Regions from separate parts of the Homo sapiens genome. Here regions 1 and 2 are each linked to region 3. Evidence: promoter capture Hi-C in 16 types of primary human blood cells and fetal thymus (Javierre and others, 2016). All regions are on one chromosome and are shown on one strand. Each heading gives the region's core, a stretch centred on a gene start or on the middle of the fragment in contact. The rest is flanking DNA. Distances are from core to core; before and after follow the strand shown.

Evidence for each region. Contacts are between HindIII fragments. The CHiCAGO score rates a contact against its expected background, and 5 or more counts as called.
Region 1: a fragment that was not itself captured here is called in contact with the fragment with the promoter of MPEG1 in region 3 in 2 of 17 cell types (naive B cells and total B cells); the score reaches 9.1 in naive B cells.
Region 2: a fragment that was not itself captured here is called in contact with the fragment with the promoter of MPEG1 in region 3 in 2 of 17 cell types (total B cells and naive B cells); the score reaches 5.6 in total B cells.

The regions. Positions count from the first base shown.
Region 1 is chr11:59,379,412-59,383,693 of GRCh38, reverse strand. No RefSeq gene overlaps it. Among named protein-coding and RNA genes, the nearest start is that of OR5AN1, 23 kb to the right of the region's middle. The HindIII fragment of the contact is 3,141 bases long and covers 1-2,820 here.
Region 2 is chr11:59,405,960-59,410,179 of GRCh38, reverse strand. No RefSeq gene overlaps it. Among named protein-coding and RNA genes, the nearest start is that of OR5A2, 18 kb to the left of the region's middle. The HindIII fragment of the contact is 299 bases long and covers 1,597-1,895 here.
Region 3 is chr11:59,211,056-59,215,246 of GRCh38, reverse strand. MPEG1 (macrophage expressed 1) reads left to right here and starts at 2,320. Exons shown (of 1, transcript NM_001039396.2): 1 at 2,320-4,191. The coding sequence starts at 2,382. It also overlaps the pseudogene RN7SL42P. RefSeq lists an enhancer at 2,144-2,343. The HindIII fragment of the contact is 5,135 bases long and covers 1-2,334 here.

The DNA.
Region 1 (4,282 bases), core at 1-2,500, 170 kb before region 3:
TCCTATTCAACATAGTGTTGGAAGTTCTGGCCAGGGCAATCAGGCAGGAGAAGGAAATAAAGGGTATTCAATTAGGAAAAGAGGAAGTCAAACTGTCCCTGTTTGCAGATGACATAATTGTATATCTAGAAAACCACATCGTCTCAGCCCAAAATCTCCTTAAGCTGATAGGTAATTTCAGCAAAGTCTCAGGATACAAAACCAATGTGCAAAAATCACAAGCATTCTTATACACCAATAACAGACAAACAGACAGCCAAATCATGATTGAACTCCCATTCACAATTGCTTCAAAGAGAGTAAAATACCTAGGAATCCAACTTACAAGGGACATGAAGGACCTCTTCAAGGAGAACTACAAACCACTACTCAATGAAATAAAAGAGGATACAAACAAATGGAAGAACTTTCCATGCTCATGGGTAGGAAGAATCAATATTGTGAAAATGGCCATACTGCCCAAGGTAATTTATAGATTCAATGCCATCCCCATCAAGCTACCAATGACTTTCTTCACAGAATTGGAAAAAACTACTTTAAAGTTCATATGGAACCAAAAAAGAGCCCACATCGCCAAGTCAATCCTAAGCCAAAAGAACAAAGCTGGAGGCATCACACTACCTGACTTCAAACTATACTACAGGGCTACAATAAACAAAACAGCATGGTACTGGTACCAAAACAGAGATATAGACCAATGGAACAGAACAGAGCCCTCAGAAATAATGCCACATATCTACTACCATCTGATCTTTGACAAAGCTGACAAAAACAAGAACTGGGGAAAGGATTCCCTATTTAATAAATGGTGCTGGGAAAACTGGCTAGCCATATGTAGAAAGCTGAAACTGGATCCCTTCCTTACACCTTATACAAAAATTAATTCAAGATGGATTAAAGACTTAAATGTGAGACCTGAAACCATAAAAACCCTACAAGAAAACCTAGCCAATACCATTCAGGACATAGGCATGGGCAAGGACTTCATGACTGAAACACCAAAAGGAATGGCAACAAAAGCCAAAATTGACAAATGGGATCTAATTAAACTAAAGAGCTTCTGCACAGCAAAAGAAACTACCATCAGAGTCAATAGCAACCTACAGAATGGGAGAAAATTTTGCAATCTACTCATCTGACAAAGGGCTAATATCCAGAATCTACAATGAACTCAAACAAATTTATAAGAAAAAACAAACAACCCCATCAAAAAGTGGGTGAAGTATATGAACAGACACTTCTCAAAAGAAGACATTTATGCAGCCAAAAGACACATGAAAAAATGCCCATTATCACTGGCCATAGAGAAATGCAAATCAAAACCACAATGAGATACCATCTCACACCAGTTAGAATGGCAATCATTAAAAAGTCAGGAAACCACAGGTGCCGGAGAGGATGTGGAGAAATAGGAACAATTTTACATTGTTGGTAGGACTGTAAACTAGTTCAACCATTGTGGAAGTCAGTGTGGCGATTCCTCAGGGATCTAGAACTAGAAATACCATTTGACCCAGTAAACCCATTACTGGGTATATACCCAAAGGATTATAAATCCTGCTGCTGTAAAGACACATGCACATGTATGTTTATTGTGGCACTATTCACAATAGCAAAGACTTGGAAACAACCCAAATGTCCAACAATGATAGACGGGATTAAGAAAATGTGGCACATATACACCATTGATTACTATGCAGCCATAAAAAATGATGAGTTCATGTCCTTTGTAGGGACATGGATGAAGCTGGAAACCATCATTCTCAGCAAACTATCACAAGGACAAAAAATCAAACACTGCATGTTCTTACTCATAGGTGGGAATTGAACAATGAGAACACATGGACACAGGAAGGGGAACATCACACACCGGGACCTGTTGTGGGGTGGGGGGAGGGGGGAGGGATAGCATTAGGAGATATACCTAATGTTGAATGACAAGTTAATGGGTGCAGCACACCAACATGGCACATGTATACATATGTAACAAACCTGCACATTGTGCACTTGTACCCTAAAACTTCAAGTATAATAAAAAACCACACCCTCAAAAAACCACAATAATTCTCCAGCAATAAGTGCTGAACACAAATAAATTCTAAAATTTCCAGATAAAAATTCAAAATATTGATTTTAAAGAAGCTCAATGAACTTCAAGAGAAATCTGAAAATCAATACAAAGAAATCAGAAAATCATTTTAAGATATGAATGAGTAATTTACCAAGGAGATAGATATCTTAAAAAAAAACAGTAATTCTAGAACTGAAAATTTTATTGCAAGAATTACAAAATACATTTGAAGCCTTCAAGAATAGACTAGATTAAGCACAAGGAAGAATCAGAACTTGAAGATAGGTTTTAAAAATATAATACAGTCAGATAAAAATAAAATAGAATAAACAAAGCCTTCAAGACTTTTAAGACTATCTAAAATGACCTAAATAATAAATTATTGGTATTCCTGAGGAAAAAAGGTTAAGAAATTTATTAATGAAATAATGTATAAAAACCTCCCAAGTGTATCAAGAAATTCAGACATCTGAATAAAAGAAGCTCAGTGATCCCCAGAAAATTACAATGCCTAAATGAGTTTGCCATAGCATATTATTAGACTATCTAAAATCATATGAATGAACAAATTCTAAAATTGGCAAGAGAAAAACATCTAGTCATCTACAAAGGAAACTACTTCAGAATAACAGCAGACTTATCAGCAGAAACTTTGCTGGTAAGAAGGTAGTGAAATGACGTATTCCAAGTGTTGAAAGAAAAAAAGCAAACTAGTAGCCAAGAATTCTGTATACAGCAAGAATTAAGCTTTAGGAGAAATACTCTTTTCCAGATAAGCAAATGCTGATAGAATTTGCCACGACTAGATTGGAAATAGAAGAAATGATCAAAGGATTCCTAAACTTGAAAGTGAAAGAATGGTATTCACCATCATGAAAACACACAAACATAAAACTCATTGTTAATGCAATAATACAAAAGGGGAAGTGAAAGGAACACAATGACACCACTACAGAATTCCACAAAACCAAAAATGAACAATGAGAAAAACAGAGAAAAGAGAATGTATAAAATAACTAGACAACAATTAATAATATGACAGGAACAAAACCTCACCTATCAATACTAACCTTGAACATAAAAGAATTAAACACTGCTTTTAAAAGGTATACATTGGTAAGATGGGTTAAAAAACATGACTTAACCATAAGCTGTCTACAACAAACTCATCTTATCTGTAAAGGCACATACAGACTGAAAGTAAAGCAGTGGAAAAAGGTATTTCACACAAATGGAAACCAAGAGCAAGCAGAATTAGCTATAATTAGATAAAACAGGCTTTAAATTAAAAACAATAAAAGGATAAAGAAGATGATCATATAATGATAAAGGAAACAACTCAGCAAGAGAAAATAACAATTCTAAATAAGGAACTAGAAAAGTGAGATCAAACCAAATTCAAAATTAGCAGAAATAAAGAAATAACAATGATTACAGCAGAACTAAATGAAATAGAGACCAAAAATGATATAAAGGATAAATGAAACAAAAATTTGGTTTTTAAAATAATAAACAAAAATTGATAAGCCATTAGTGAGAATAACCAAGAGAGGACTCAAATAAAGACAATCACAAATGAAAAAGGAGATATTATAAGTAATACCACAGAAATACAAATATGTACATGAATTTAACTTATTGTTATCAAGCTGTATTACCAGCAAGCTGTGCTATCTTGGGACAATCCCTTAGCTTCTCTGGCCTCAGGTTCTCCACCTGAAATGGATAGTTTGGACTATAAGATCCCTAGGTTCCTATATCCTTTCCAGCTCAAATGACTCCAAAGTTAGTAAAGAAAATCTACAGTCACGAGACCATCATATAGACCATTGGGAAGTAGGGAATGAATCCAGTGGGGACATGGCAAAGTGGGGCATGAAATCTGTAGGGACAAAAGCTCCATGACAATGATGACACCAGAGAGCAAGTACCTGGAATGTTTTCTCCCTTGAATTGGCTTTTCCCCTTTATTCTCTGCTCTCAACGGCACGTTTAAGAAGATCTGAAGTTGTGGTCATCGCTTTTGCTGTGAGTGAACAGCAAGTTTTGTGGCCAAAATCATCCATCTTAGAGTGCAATGGGGCCCACATGGAAAATTCCTTTGTACGAGAAATAATTAATTTTAACCTTTGGCAAGAATTGTGTCTTTTTGAGGGATCTGGGTCAAGTTCACAGGGCAAGACTTAGATGGAATGGTTGCTTCTCTGCTAT
Region 2 (4,220 bases), core at 497-2,996, 200 kb before region 3:
CTGGATTGGTTACATATCAGCGTTTGCCTTATTTGAACACGGTTCGAACAGTTGGCTATACTTGATTGGCCAAAACTCGGTGATCAGCACAAGTGTAGGCTACGGTCTATTTACACCTCCACTCTTTATAGTTCACAATTTACAGAAAAACCTTTAGGATGAACCTAAAATCTGTAAGGAGGCAGCTTTATGCTAAAATTGATTTAACAATTCCCCCCTTTGGTTATCCTCTCAATTTTGAGAGATTAACTGAAACTTTAGTTGTTGATGTCACTACCACCATTGTAAAGATACTTATTTGGTATTGAAACCCACTGGGAAACAGTAAAAGAGTGGGTTTTATAAAGTAGGAACAAGGATTCAGTAGAAGGTTCCTCCTTATGCTGGAATGTCCTGTTTACATGAAAAAACCCCTTGTCTGTTGTAGGATCTAGGTGTTTCCTTAAAGTCTTAGTTTGATTATGTCACATTTAGCATGAGTGACTCCATTTTGGTTTGGTCTGGTTTCTTGGGGCCTACTGCATGAGCTCAGTCCAAAACAATGGCCTCCCATAATTTTGTTTAAAAATTCCCCTTTTTTGGTCAGGTTCTCATGTAGGTGAGAGTGTGACAAAACTTAGGGCCTTAGCTCCACTCTCAGTTACCGTCGTTTTTGGTTTCTGGTCTCAGCATGTCATTCATAGGTTACAGTGTCCTCATGGTCACACATTTCTGTCAGCTCTTATCATTCCAGTTGAAGAGACATTCCAGAGACGGCTGCATGCAAACCTTTAAAACTTTTGAGAGAACATAGCCCACCAAGAAGACTGCTATTATGACTATCAGGAGGATAATACCAAGATTTTGGATTATGCTTCTTACTCAGAGTCCCCATAAACCAAACTACCTGAAATCAAATAGATCAAAGAACTAGCTAGAGTTCACTCACTTAAGTAAGCAGTCTCTTCATTAACCCCCTACAACTGAATCTCTATAATCTACATTTGATGTATTTCACCATAGGCCACAAATGGCAGTGGCTGCACAGATATTTCTGTTTAGCCAGTAAGTAATCTAGAGCAATTCTATTATTTAGCATAACTTTCACAAGAGAATGTAAAGTCTGTTGTGTAATGATAGCCTTTACAGTAGAATCTTTTATAGAGCCTATCATGAGAGACACATTTCTAATCATTTCCTTTATCACTCCAAACCATGGGAAAGAGGACTTAACAATTGATGCCCTTCTAGAAGAGTGAAGGCCTCCTGGCAATGTTCTCTTTAAGCCATGATGTAGGTTAGGAGGAGTGAACCACTGTTCCCTTTCTGATTATGGGGCAATGTATGTACCATTAAAATTTCTCACCTACATTGGGGCCTTTATCTTTTATCTGTGTAAGGTTATCCATGTAAAAGACTGGCTGCAAAATCCTTCACAAATAAAAATATACCCCATGAGTGCACACAACAGACCCCCTTTTCACTTCTATTGTTCATGGAGGCATAAGCAAGGGAAAATATTCAAAAATAAGCATCATTATAGTACAGATGTCTTGATCCATGATCTCAGGAGAAGCTGTTCACATCAAGGATGCCATCTTCTTCTGAGGAGAAGCTTCCCAGTTAGCTTTACCTTAAGGGTTCCAATGCATGTGAGGTTCTAAGAGTGTGGAGGGGCCTTTCTCAGTTGTAAGATTATTAACCCAAAGTTCAAGGTTTCAAAGTTTGCTGCAATATGGATGGCAAGGGCAGTCTTTTTCTGATGTTTTCAGAAGATCCAATCTTCAGGTTCTAGATTGTGAAGGGGTTGATTGTCCCCAGTCAGTGAACCATAAAAATCTTTCTTTACCTGGTGAGAATATACTGTGACATCATAATATACTGTTATAACATCAGACCTCTTGCATGGGAAAGCTTTTATACAACTGGAAAACATGCATTGAAAATGATAATCAAATGAAGTCTCTCTATACATGTTTAAATGGCCCATTAGGTAGCCAAATGTACCTGAAGCTTTGATTATCTTCCCAGGAATATGGGTTTGACAAACCAAACATTGGTCATAAACTATTTTAGCAATTTAAAAGTCACCACACCAATATGTATTTAATTTGGGTTATTTTATCTTTTTCAGGATGAGTCATGGCATGCAGAACTCTTTTTTTTTATTATTATACTTTAAGTTTTAGGGTACATGTGCACAATGTGCATGTTAGTTACATATGTATACATGGGCCATGCTGGTGCGCTGCACCCACTAACTCGTCATCTAGCATTAGGTATATCTCCCAATGCTATCCCTCCCCTCTCCCCCCAGCCCACAACAGTCCACAGAGTGTGATGTTCCCCTTCCTGTGTCCATATGTTCTCATTGTTCAATTCCCACCTATGAGTGAGAATATGCGGTGTTTGGTTTTTTGTTCTTGCAATAGTTTACTGAGAATGATGATTTCCAATTTCATCCATGTCCCTACAAAGGACATGAACTCATCATTTTTTATGGCTGCATAGTATTCCATGGTGTATATGTGCCACATTTTCTTAATCCAGTCTGTCATTGTTGGACATTTGGGTTGGTTCCAAGTCTTTGCTTTTGTGAATAGTGCCACAATAAACATACGTGTGCATGTGTCTTTATAACAGCATGATTTATAGTCCTTTGGGTATATACCCAGTAATGGGATGGCTGGATCAAATGGTATTTCTAGTTCTAGATCCCTGAATAACCACCACACTGACTTCCACAATGGTTGAACTAGTTTACAGTCCCACCAACAGTGTAAAAGTGTTCCTATTTCTCCACATCCTCTCCAGCACCTGTTGTTTCCTGACTTTTTAATGATTGCCATTCTAACTGACGTGAGATGATATCTCATTGTGGTTTTGATTTGCATTTCTCTGATGGCCAGTGATGGTGAGCATTTTTTCATGTGTTTTTTGGCTGCATAAATGTCTTCTTTTGAGAGGTGTCTGTTCATGTCCTTTGCCCACTTTTTGATGGGGTTGTTTGTTTTTTCTTGTAAATTTGTTTGAGTTCATTGTATATTCTGGATATTAGCCCTTTGTCAGATGAGTAGGTTGCGAAAATTTTCTCCCATTTTGTAGGTTGCCTGTTCAGTCTGATGGTAGTTTCTTTTGCTGTGCAGAAGCTCTTTAGTTTAATTAGATCCCATTTATCAATTTTGTCTTTTGTTGCCATTGCTTTTGGTGTTTTAGACATGAAGTCCTTGCCCATGCCTATGTCCTGAATGGTAATGCCTAGGTTTTCTTCTAGGGTTTTTATGGTTTTAGGTCTAACGTTTAAGTCTTTAATCCATCTTGAATTGATTTTTGTATAAGGTGTAAGGAAGGGATCCAGTTTCAGCTTTCTACATATGGCTAGCTAGTTTTTCCAGCACCATTTATTAAATAGGGAATCCTTTCCCCATTGCTTGTCTTTCTCAGGTTTGTCAAAGATCAGATGGTTGTAGATATTTGGTGTTATTTCTGAAGGCTCTGTTCTGTTCCATTGATCAATATTTCTGTTTTGGTACCAGTACCATGCTGTTTTGGTGACTGTAGCCTTGTAGTATAGTTTGAAGTCAGGTAGTGTGATGCCTCCAGCTTTGTTCTTTTGGCTTAGGATTGACTTGGCGATGCGGGCTCTTTTTTGGTTCCATATGAACTTTAAAGTAGTTTTTTCCAATTCTGTGAAGAAAGTCATCGGTAGCTTGATGGGGATGGCATTGAATCTATAAATTACCTTGGGCAGTATGGCCATTTTCATGATATTGATTCTTCCAATCCATGAGCATGGAATGTTCTTCCATTTGTTTGTATCCTCTTTTATTTCATTGAGCAGTGGTTTGTAGTTCGCCTAGTTCTCCTTGCAGAGGTCCTTCACATCCCTTGTAAGTTGGATTCCTAGGTATTTGATTCTCTTTGAAGCAATTGTGAATGGGAATTCACTCATGATTTGGTTCTCTGTTTGTCTGTTATTGGTATATAAGAATGCTTGTGATTTTTGTACATTGATTTTGTATTCTGAGACTTTGCTGAAGTTGCTTATCAGCTTAAGGTGATTTTGGACTGAGACAATGGGGTTTTCTAGATATACAATCATGTCGTCTGCAAACAGGGACAATTTGACTTCCTCTTTTCCTAGTTGAATACCTTTTATTTCCTTCTCCTGCCTAATTGCCCTGGCCAGAAATTCCAACACTATGTTGAATAGGAGTGGTGAGAGAGGGCATCCCTGTCTT
Region 3 (4,191 bases), core at 1,071-3,570:
TAATTTTACCGTTGTTGGCTCTTTCTGCTATTTTCAATTTTTTTTTCCTATGATAAAATGAAGACAAAGTCTATAGAATAAAAAATACAGTGACTAGACGTCTGGAGACATAGGAACACCTGAATATAGAATTGTCTGTATTAACCTTGCTTGTATTCTCATTTCAGGAGAGTGAGCTCTCAACAGGGTCTACTAAAGAGAAAGCAGAGGGTAACAAATTGTCAGCTTGTCTCCAAAGCAGTGTGAGAGTATTCTAATTTTGATGAACCATCCCAGAAATAGTTTGAAGAGAAGTATGTAGGTATTTCAACAGACTTATTGGAAGTACTCAAGGGCATTCAACTCTCATTTTTCTAATTCTGGGATCATGCTGCTGAGGTATAAATTTATGGCTAACTGATTTATAAATTAACTAGAACATCCTGTGCAAAGATTTGGTTCTTTAGCCAAATACAGACTAGGCACTGGTTCATAAATTAATCCCTCTTAGGTGGCTGGTGTCACTTCCCAGAAGCATGATAACTGTGGCACAAATAGAACCAGAATGGCCAGGTGTGGTGGTGCATGACTGCAGTCCCAGATTCCTGGGAAGCTGATGTGGGAGGATTGCTTGAATCCATGAGTTCTGGGCTGTAGTGTGCTATGCCAGTTGGGTGTCTGCACTAAGCTCAGCATCAATATGGTGGCCTCCTTGGAGCAAATCACCAGGTTGCCTAAGGAGGGCTAAACGGGTCCAGGTTGGAAATGGAGCAGGTCAAAACTCCTATGCTGATTAGTAGTGGGACCATGCCTGTGAATAGCTACTGCACTCAAGCCTGGGCAATAAGCAAGACCCTGTCTTGGAAAAAAAAATATACCCGGAATGCAGTATTTCTAGATTTATAGAACACCATCATGGTTTTGATAATAACTGGTGAAGCCCAGCCTGGGAAGCAAGATAACTAGCCTCATTCTTTCTAAAAACACTTCTTTGCTGCATTAATAACCAACAGAGGAATTCAACTCCTTGGAACCTTCCTTCCAGGATGCATACAGGTGATGGTGTAGTGATACCTGTGAATTGCAACATGACTTTTTCAGTCTCAGTACTGTATCTAGTTCATGGTATAATCTTGGGAATGTTAAGGATGCAACTGGGAGCTTCACTAAGTCCTCTGGATTCCCTGGCTACCACTAAGCATACTAAGACATAGCCTAATTGTCCCAAAGAATTAACAGAGTTGGGTTTCAATCAAACCTGTCACCATTGTTTTAAATTATGGGCTCTAATAGAGCTGGCATTGGAACTTGAAAAGAAACTCATGTAATTATATTCTTCTAATGATATAGCAAATGAATTTTTGCTTTTAGAAAAAATATTGGGTAGTGAAGAGCCACATTCTTTTTTATCCACCTAAACTGATTACACACACTTAGCAATGGAACAAAAAATTAAAGGTATAACAGGTACCAACTTCATACAAAATGCACACACACAGAGGATATATAAATGTGTGTACACATACACATATGTTCCTTGGCCCCTGTCTGCTGTTGATAAATCAAAATCTAGATAATAGTGTGGTTTTGTCTTGAACATTTCTATCTGAATGAAAACAACACAGTGTAGGAGTTCCTTGCCCTCGCTTTGAATGCTTAGGACAATGCAAATTGGGGTTTCCCAGCATATTGCAACCGAATCCTCTTCAGGCCCTGTCAGCTGTGCTCCAGACAATGCCATCCCCAAAGACAGAATTGCTATGGTTCATAACAGTGAAACCCACAGGACAAGTGTCCAAGAGTTTCACTCCTTTCTTTTGTGGAAACAGCCTCCACCCTCAGGCAAAGAGGAAACCCAGGGTTGGCCTTGACTAACAGCTTGCATAGGTATGGTGGAGCCAGGGTGTTTCAGTAAGGGTGGTGTGGTCATTTGCCTCTGCATTTATAGTAAAAGAAAACTGATAATGGAGTCCCAAGAGACAGCAGTCAGGGAAAATATGAAACATCAAGTCCAAGAGAATGAGCAAAAAGCAAAGCCAAACTTTCTGGTGGAGGAAGCAGTAGGGTGTGGGGTCGGGATTTTTTTCTAAGTGCACACCCCTGCAGCAGAGTAACCAGCCAGAGCTGGGGGAAAAATTAGGATAGCTACCTGTTAGGCATGTAGGGGTGTGTTTGCATGTTTAGTACGGCATAAATTCTTCAAAGACCTGATGGTCTTTAATATTCCAACCAACTCTCGTTTCCCCATTTTGTCATTAAATTAGCTTAAAGAGGAACTTGTAGCTTTTAGAGAACTCATGAGTTTTCCGCTTCATCATCTGCTTCTGTTTTCTCCATCTTAGTTTGCCCAAAGCTTGCTGGCCGCTGTGTAGGGCTGGTGAGTGGCTGGGGCTGTCTGAGCCATGAACAACTTCAGGGCCACCATCCTCTTCTGGGCAGCGGCAGCATGGGCTAAATCAGGCAAGCCTTCGGGAGAGATGGACGAAGTTGGAGTTCAAAAATGCAAGAATGCCTTGAAACTACCTGTCCTGGAAGTCCTACCTGGAGGGGGCTGGGACAATCTGCGGAATGTGGACATGGGACGAGTTATGGAATTGACTTACTCCAACTGCAGGACAACAGAGGATGGACAGTATATCATCCCTGATGAAATCTTCACCATTCCCCAGAAACAGAGCAACCTGGAGATGAACTCAGAAATCCTGGAATCCTGGGCAAATTACCAGAGTAGCACCTCCTACTCCATCAACACAGAACTCTCTCTTTTTTCCAAAGTCAATGGCAAGTTTTCCACTGAGTTCCAGAGGATGAAGACCCTCCAAGTGAAGGACCAAGCTATAACTACCCGAGTTCAGGTAAGAAACCTCGTCTACACAGTCAAAATCAACCCAACTTTAGAGCTAAGCTCAGGTTTTAGGAAGGAACTCCTTGACATCTCTGACCGTCTAGAGAACAACCAGACGAGGATGGCCACCTACCTGGCAGAACTCCTGGTGCTCAACTATGGCACCCACGTCACCACCAGTGTCGACGCTGGGGCTGCTCTTATTCAGGAGGACCACCTCAGGGCCTCCTTCCTCCAAGACAGCCAGAGCAGTCGTAGTGCCGTGACCGCCTCTGCTGGACTTGCCTTTCAAAACACCGTGAACTTCAAATTTGAGGAAAACTATACCTCGCAGAATGTCCTCACCAAGAGCTACCTCTCAAACCGAACCAACTCCAGGGTGCAGAGCATTGGAGGGGTTCCTTTTTACCCAGGCATCACCCTCCAGGCCTGGCAGCAGGGTATCACCAACCACCTGGTGGCCATCGACCGCTCTGGCCTGCCGCTGCATTTCTTCATCAACCCCAACATGCTACCTGACTTGCCAGGCCCCCTGGTGAAGAAGGTGTCAAAGACAGTGGAAACTGCTGTGAAGCGCTATTATACATTCAACACCTACCCTGGCTGCACAGATCTCAATTCTCCCAACTTCAATTTTCAGGCCAACACGGATGATGGCTCCTGCGAGGGGAAAATGACCAACTTCTCTTTCGGTGGGGTTTATCAGGAATGCACTCAGCTCTCAGGGAATAGGGATGTCCTCCTCTGCCAAAAGTTGGAGCAGAAGAATCCACTCACTGGTGATTTCTCCTGCCCCTCTGGCTACTCCCCGGTGCACCTGTTATCCCAGATCCACGAGGAGGGTTACAACCACCTGGAGTGTCATCGAAAGTGCACTCTCCTCGTCTTCTGCAAGACCGTGTGTGAAGATGTGTTCCAGGTGGCAAAAGCTGAATTTAGGGCTTTTTGGTGTGTGGCCAGCAGCCAAGTACCTGAAAACTCAGGACTGCTTTTTGGGGGCCTCTTCAGCAGCAAGAGCATAAACCCCATGACAAATGCACAGTCATGCCCAGCCGGCTACTTTCCACTGAGACTCTTTGAAAACCTCAAGGTATGTGTTTCTCAGGACTATGAGTTGGGAAGCAGGTTTGCGGTCCCCTTTGGCGGGTTCTTTAGCTGCACAGTTGGGAACCCCCTGGTAGATCCTGCTATATCCAGAGATTTAGGGGCACCGTCTCTGAAAAAGTGCCCCGGGGGCTTCAGCCAGCACCCAGCCCTCATCAGCGATGGATGCCAAGTGTCCTATTGCGTCAAATCCGGGCTCTTCACAGGAGGGTCCCTGCCCCCTGCCAGGCTCCCACCTTTCACCCGGCCACCCCTCATGAGTC